2 separate regions of the Homo sapiens genome follow, and region 2 is linked to region 1. The links are contacts of gene promoters, found by promoter capture Hi-C in blood cells and fetal thymus (Javierre and others, 2016). All regions are on one chromosome and are shown on one strand. The core of a region is centred on a gene start or on the middle of the fragment in contact, and the rest is flanking DNA. Distances in the headings are between cores, read along the strand shown.

The links. Contacts are between HindIII fragments. The CHiCAGO score rates a contact against its expected background, and 5 or more counts as called.
Region 2: a fragment that was not itself captured here is called in contact with the fragment with the promoter of KLHL38 in region 1 in 1 of 17 cell types (endothelial precursors); the score reaches 5.3 in endothelial precursors.

What each region holds. Positions count from the first base shown.
Region 1 is chr8:123,652,004-123,655,891 of GRCh38, reverse strand. It overlaps KLHL38 (kelch like family member 38), which reads left to right and starts at 2,091. Exons shown (of 4, transcript NM_001081675.3): 1 at 2,091-2,306; 2 at 2,965-3,888. The coding sequence starts at 2,966. The HindIII fragment of the contact is 6,101 bases long and covers 1-3,888 here.
Region 2 is chr8:124,445,002-124,448,550 of GRCh38, reverse strand. No RefSeq gene overlaps it. Among named protein-coding and RNA genes, the nearest start is that of TYW2, 4.0 kb to the left of the region's middle. The HindIII fragment of the contact is 2,542 bases long and covers 664-3,205 here.

The DNA.
Region 1 (3,888 bases), core at 842-3,341:
GCAAAACCGGCACAGCAGACAGTGGTGTGAAGTCCACCCAGCAAAGCTCCCTCTCTTTCCCCATTCCCCATTCTGTTCCAGCTCAATGCAGGAAGTGTATGAAATTCACCCCCTATAAGCCAGGCCCTGTGCTGGGTGCTAGGAGTAGAGCTACAATGAAGTCAAGATTCCTGCTGCCCAGAGACTTCCACTCTAATAAGAGAGACACAGGGAAGTAAACATAATCTCAGTGAGGTATGAGGCATGCCATTAGAGGCATGTAGAAGAATGGAAACTGCACAGAGGAGTGTGAAGTTAAGTGTCTTAGAGAGGGGTAAAAAGACTTGCAGAGAAGTGATACATAAACCAAGTTTTGGAAGACGAACAGAAACAGTGAAAATGATAGAGTGAGCAGAGGGGAAGAGCTCATAGAAAGGGATAGAGTACGAATCAGAGGATCCCTGGGCTCTTTCAGGAATGTGGCTACTCACTTATTATGTCACCAGCACAGCTCACCAACTCGGACATATGGAGGAACAGCTCCTCTCACCTGCTCCCTGCTTGTGCCTCCATGGGTCTCTGACCCCCTTAGCTTAGGCCTCCTGCTCCTAATTCTGGCCTCCAGGCCCATGGCCCCAGTAACATGTTTTGGATCCATTTCCCTGGCCTTGACCTTCTGGACTCTTTTGGGCATAATCCACTCTACGATCGGCAACTGTGAATGAGAAACCCTCTTCCTTCCACCCTGCCCTGTGGTGTCCCAAAGGCCAGGCCAGCCCAGCTTCCCCAACAGTGACCAGATGCATACAAGGATCTGTAAGTGTCTCATGGAGCTAGATTACCACACATGAGTGGCAGTAGACATGGTTCCAGAAGCAGACAGGACACCAGTCCGATTCTGGCTAAGGAGTCCTGCAGACATGGGGAGCCACTGAAGGGCCTGATGCTGGGGACTGGCAAATTCTGAGTTGCCTTCCCAGGGGCTGCTCCAGAGAAGACAGGGTGGATGTATTGGAGAGAGAAGTACTAGGAGCAAAGAAAAAAAAATGCATGGAAGACCATTGCACTAGTTGAGCAAGACGTTGAGTAGGAGACAAAGTCAGGCTTCCCTGCCTTTTGTGGCTAAGACAATCATGGACCTCCCTGAAGGCAGGGGCAGAACAGACCTGAGGTCCCCCTCACTCTCTCTCGTGATTCTGATTGTTATTGAAAGCTGCCTCCTACCACATCACTATCATCATTCCTCCCCCGATTCTCTACCTCCTGCTTCTTTTCCTCCTCCTCCTATTCCTCCTCCTCTTCTTCCTCCTCTCGTCTCTCTCCCTCCCTCTGTCCCTGCTTCTTCTTCCTCCTCATCCTCCTTCATCTTCTTTCTCTCTCTCCCTAAAGCAATATGCCTTGCCTCCTGCCTCTAGCTCAAGCTGCCAGACAAGACAAAATGGAAAAGTAAGACAGAAAAGGAAGTCTGAACTATAAAAAGCCAGCTGAAGAGCAATCAGCACGTGTCTGGGAGAGGCAGACGCGACAGGAGGAGCTCGGCCTTACCACTGTCAATCAGAGGTTCCTGAGTAAGGAGACCTGACAAAGGTTTGGGCCTTCAGGAGTCTGGAAACCCTGGGATGCTCAACAACAACAACAACAAAAAACAACAACTTTTGTCATGGATTTCATCACCTAGGATCCTGGAGGAGGAAATCACAGCTCTCCCCAGCGATCCCGCCAGGCAGATGGTGGGAAATAGAGATCCATTGAATAGCACCCACAGGCTCATGTTCCGGCTTCCCTTGTGACCACCTGCCACCTCCACTGTGGCCCAGAACCATCTTCAGTGACTCTCCACAGGTCACAGCAACCTGTTTACAGACGGCTAGAATTCCCAAGCACTTTTAGGACAGGGGACTCGGGATGGTTCCAAGCAGACAGCAAAGTCTTCTCTAAGAGAAGCCGCTCCTCCCGATCTATTTTTGCCGATGTAAACACTTGCCAAGGAAACGAGGCATGTGGGCATGCGCCGGCCCTGCAGGCCCTCGGGTTGCTGCAAAAGGCAACTGGAAAGTCACATGTCATAACAGTGGAAAGTACATATGCAACTATTCTTAGCCCTGGAATGTATACACTGTCTCCCTGCCCAGCAGTCCTTGCACAAAGCTCTAGAAAACTATGAAAGTGCCTTCAGCATAAACAAATCCAGAAATCTCCCAGGACAAATCATTTGCCAACTGAAAGAAAGGCCTGGGGTTTATGGTTTCCCTTGGAGCTAGAGGTAGAAACTCTCCGGGGGGATAAGTCAGACCAGGCACCAGTGGATGTCACCGCAGCAAAACAAGGTAAGTGTCCCTCATACTTATTTCTTCTGCAAGTAGAAAACCAGGTGTCATCCAATAAACCAGGGGATTGTTTGGTCTTTCCTTTTATTTATTCTATCTTTAAAACAAGACTCAATGAAGTCATATTTAAATATATGCATCAAAGGTCCATTTTCTTCCCTCATTTCTGTCCAGTGACCAGAGGGCCACACCTCCAGAATATCATCCTTGGGGAATGATTGACACCCAGAAAGAGAGGTTTAGACATCTGTTACTCAATAACAGATATGCCATCGATCTGGAAAAAGGCTCATGAACTTCTGCTGGTCAAATCCATGGACTGTTATCTTGCTTCAGACTAACATTTCAGCTTCTGATAACAGAGTAACTTCCAACAACTTTAGTTTGTTTGTTTGGTTGTTTCTCTCAGATTAGCTGAAGATACTATTTGCCTATTACTTTTGAAAATAACCATAACCCAAAAGGGCTCAGGTCTGAGATGTATGTGGCCTTCCTTTCCAATCTTCCCTACACAATATCCATGGTGACATCCGCAAACATCATGGGGAATGGAATAGGAGCACTGGTCTTGGAGTCCCCACAGCTGAACCCTCCAGCACATGCAGCTGAGAAAGGTTTGACTCTTGCTGACTCTGGGGGCTTCCTTCCCTCTTTGTAGGATGGACGAGGAGTCACTAGATGGGCTGCTCTTCAAAGACCACGACTTCTCTTCTGACTTGTTGAGGCAGCTCAACAGCTTAAGGCAAAGCAGGATCCTGACTGATGTGAGCATCTGTGCCGGTGCCCGGGAGATCCCCTGCCACCGCAACGTGCTGGCCTCCAGCAGCCCCTACTTCAGGGCTATGTTCTGCAGCAGCTTCCGGGAGAAGAGTGAAGCCAAAGTGCAGCTGAAAGGCATTGACCCCCCAACCCTGGACCAGATCGTCTCCTACGTGTATACGGGGGAGGCACATATTGCCACTGACAATGTCCTCCCCGTGATGGAGGCCGCCTCCATGCTACAGTTCCCCAAGCTGTTTGAGGCCTGCTCCTCGTACTTGCAGAGCCAGTTGGCCCCCAGCAACTGCCTGGGTATGATCAGACTCTCAGAAATCTTAAGCTGCGAGACCCTCAAGAAGAAAGCCAGGGAGGTGGCACTGACGTCCTTCCCAGAGGTGGCCGCATCGGCCGACCTGAAGGAGCTCTGTGCCTTGGAGTTGAGGGACTATCTCGGAGATGATGGGCTCTGTGGGGAGGAGGAAAAGGTGTTTGAGGCCCTCATGGTTTGGATCAAGCATGACCTCCAGGCCCGGAAGCGATACATGCAGGAACTGTTCAAGCAGGTCAGGCTGCAGTACATCCACCCAGCCTTCTTTCACCACTTCATCGCCAACGATGCCCTCCTGCAGTCCTCGCCTGCATGCCAGATCATCTTGGAGACCGCCAAGAGACAGATGTTCTCTTTGTGTGGCACCACCGTCCCAGACTGCAAACTCCTGTTGCATGTCCCTCCAAGAAACTCTTACCAAGATTTCCTCATCCTCTTGGGCGGAAGGAAGGACAGCCAGCAGACCACCAGGGACGTCCTACTGTACAGCAAACA
Region 2 (3,549 bases), core at 685-3,184, 790 kb before region 1:
GAACACCCTACTCTGTAATAGAGTAGTCTTTAATAAACTTGCTTCTTTCACTGTGCTCTGTGACTGGCCCTAAATTCTTTCCTGTCTGAGATCCAAGAACCTGTTTTTTGGGTCTGGAACAAAATTCCTTTTAAGTAACATTTCCTGTGGCAACTCCCAAGGACTTTATTGAGGTGAGACCTTCAACCCAAAAGAAATAGACTGCGCAGGACCAACTGACTGACTTTGGGTAAGAAGGGGAATACATTTTTATACCGATGAAGGACAAGGACACTTATCTAAGATTGGGTTTGAGGCCTACTTGGGAGGATTAAAGGCCCCTCACAGCTGAAAATGGGTTTAGCACAATGGGATGTTAACCATTATTCACTGTGGATTCGTCCTCCTTGTGCTCTCTGTAAGAGCTTTCCAAAGGCTGCCACTTGCCAGTTTCCTGATTGCTTTCTATGCTTTACTGCTACTTTATGAGAGAGATCTTGTTGAACTGGTCCTGAGGTTTTTAACTTTCCTTTTTCTTGTTTGCCTTTGGGTTATGGGCCATTTGCCTGTTGTTCTGGCATGTTGCTAGAAGACATTGGGGACAAATGGCTCTGTAATATTTACTTTCCCTAGATCTAGACCACTTAAATGAATTGTTTATTGTCTCTCCTTTTTTGCAAAGCTTACTTGGAATTTCGCATTTACAAGTTTTAAATGAAAAGGTCCAATGTGAAAGATTAAGCCTGGCAGCAATTATACCAGTCCCCCCTAGGTGAACTGCTCCAGGATGGAAAACTGGAGATTGCTTTTCAGCAGTTCTTTTTCATCTCCTTGCTAATGGAATGACTTTTACTTTTTGGTTACAAATGGCAAGGCCATGTAAATCTTGTCCTGCTTGCCGCTACTGGCCTGAACTTGGACATTCCTTTCTAGAACTTTGTCATTTCCCTTCTCTAGTGAAACATTTCTTTTGCTGAGTCCCCTATTGTGGTCTTTACTTTTGATTACCTAATAATCTTTTGGTTTCTGTGTTAACTTGGACAATTCTTCCCCGTGGGTTTAGGGACAGGCTTTACTTTCTTCCTTTATGTGGCTGAGAAACAAGGGACAGCCCTAAATGTTCTTGTCTAGAAACAGGGATACATCCCTTGACCCATGGCATATTTTTCTAACCAATTGACCATGTGGCTTCAGGATGACTCAGATGTTTCAGGGCAGTTGCAACAACTGCTCTTCTCATAGATGAAGACAATAAATTAACTTTGGGACAACATCTGGAGGTTTTGACCCCACACCAAATAACAGAGGCCCTAGAAGCTAAAGGGCACCAATAGATGAGTAGGGGATAGTTATTAAATTATCAGGCTTTATTGCTAGATACTCTTGATATAACTCTTAAAGTATAACAGAAGACCTTAATCCTAGCTACGTATCTACTTGGATCCAAAGGCACCCTAGATCATTCATGTACACAAGCTATGGAACAAATTTATTCCAGCTGGCAGGATTTAAAAGACGGGCCACTAGGGCTGGGTGTGGTGGCTCACACCTGTAATCCCAGTACTTTGGGAGGCTGAGGCAGGCGGATTACTTGAGGTCAGGAGTTCCAGAACAGCCTGGCCAACATGGTGAAACCCCATTTGTACTAAAAATACAAAAATTACCTGGGCGTGGTGGTGCACACCTGTAGTCCCAATTACTCAGGAGGCTGAGGGAGGAGAATCACTTGAACCCAGGAGGCAGAGCTTGCAGTAAGCCAAGGTCATGCCACTGCACTCCAGGCTAGAGACAGAGCGAGACTCTGTCTCAAAAAAGGATAATAATTTTAAAAAAGAATTAACATGTACACAAACTCCAAGTATGGCTTTCTGGTGCTTCATGCTCATGCTGCTATTTGGAAATAATGGGGACTCTTTAACTTCTAAGGGCTCCCCTATAGAACATTATTTGGGAATTTTAAATCTACTAGATGCTTCCTTGCTGCCTAAGGAAGTTGCTGTGATTCACTGCAAGGGACATCAAAAAGAAAACTCCAAAATATGCCAGGCACTGTGGCTCACACCTGTAATCCCAGCACTTTGAGGGGCTAAGGCGGGCGGATCATGAGGTCAGGAGTTCGAGACCAGGCTTGCCAACAGGGTGAAACCCCATCTCTACTAAAAATACAAAAATTAGTTGGGCGTGGTGGCTCGTGCCTGTAATCCCAGCTACCTGGGAGGCTAAGGCAGGAGAATTGCTTGAACCTGGGCAGCAGAGGTTGCAGTGAGCCTGAGATCGTGCCATTGCACTCCAGCCTGGGCAACTTGAGCAAGGCTCTGACTCAAAAAAAAAAAAAAAAAGAAAAAAAAGAAAAGAAAAGAAAGAAAGAAAACTCCAAAATAATAAAAGGGCATTCTTTTGCAGATGCTACAGCTGAGGCAGCTTCATTTGAGGGAACCAGTTAATCTGGTAGGCATGTTGGTGCCCACTGCCTTGGTGACGATAAAACTAGAGCATGGTTAATACTAGAAAAGAACAAAAATGGGCTAAGACCCATGGGTTAACTATAAGCACTTCCAGATGGCTAATTGATGAAAATGACAGATGATATGTACCAAGAGCTGATCAATGGAAAATAGTTAAGTATTGGCATGGCTCTACTCATTTGGGAAGAGATTTCTCATTTCAATTAATATGGCTCATCTGTTTATAGGGAAAGACTTTCTTTTTTTTTTTGAGACGGAGTCTCGCTCTGTCACCCAGGCTGGAGTGCAGTGGTGTGATCTCAGCTCACTGCAACCTCTGCCTCCTGGGTTCAAGCAATTCTCTGCCTCAGCCTCCCGAGTAGCTGGGATTGCAGGCATCTGCCACCATGCCCAGCTAATTTTTGTATTTTTAGTAAAGACAGGGTTTCACCATGTTGGCCAGGCTGGTCTTGAACTCCTGACCTCGTGATCCACCCACCTCAGCCTCCCAAAGTGCTGGGATTACAGGCGTGAGCCACCGTGCCTGGCCGAAAAGACTTTCTTAGAACAGTAAAACAAGTGACTTGGGCCTGTGAATTGTGTGCCCAAAAAAACCTCAAACAACCAAACTTTACCTCCTCCATTAGTAAAGCCTGTTCAGCATAGGGGGTCGTACCCAGAAGAAGATTGGCAAACACACTATACCCAAATGCCCCCATGTAAAGGATTCCAATATTTATCAGTGTTGGTTGATACCTTTCTTTACATGTTGGATTGAAGCTTTTCCTATCTGGCCTGAAAAGTCAATCAAGGTTTCTAAATTTTCATTCAAGGATATGATTCCCAGATTCAGGTTGCCTAAAAGCTTGTAGAGTGATAATGGCCCATCTTTACAGCAACAATAACCAAGACATAGCATCCGCTCTAGGAATTCAATATGGTCTTCATTCCGCATGGAGGCCACAGTCTTCAGGAAAAGTAGAAAGGACCAATCAAATTTTAGACAGGACCCTTGCTAAGCTCTGACAGGAAACATCAGAAACCTGGCTCCGTCTATCGCCTGTGGCCTCGCTGCAAGTTTGGGCTGCCCCAGTGGAAGGCTCAGCCCTTTTGAAATAATGTACGG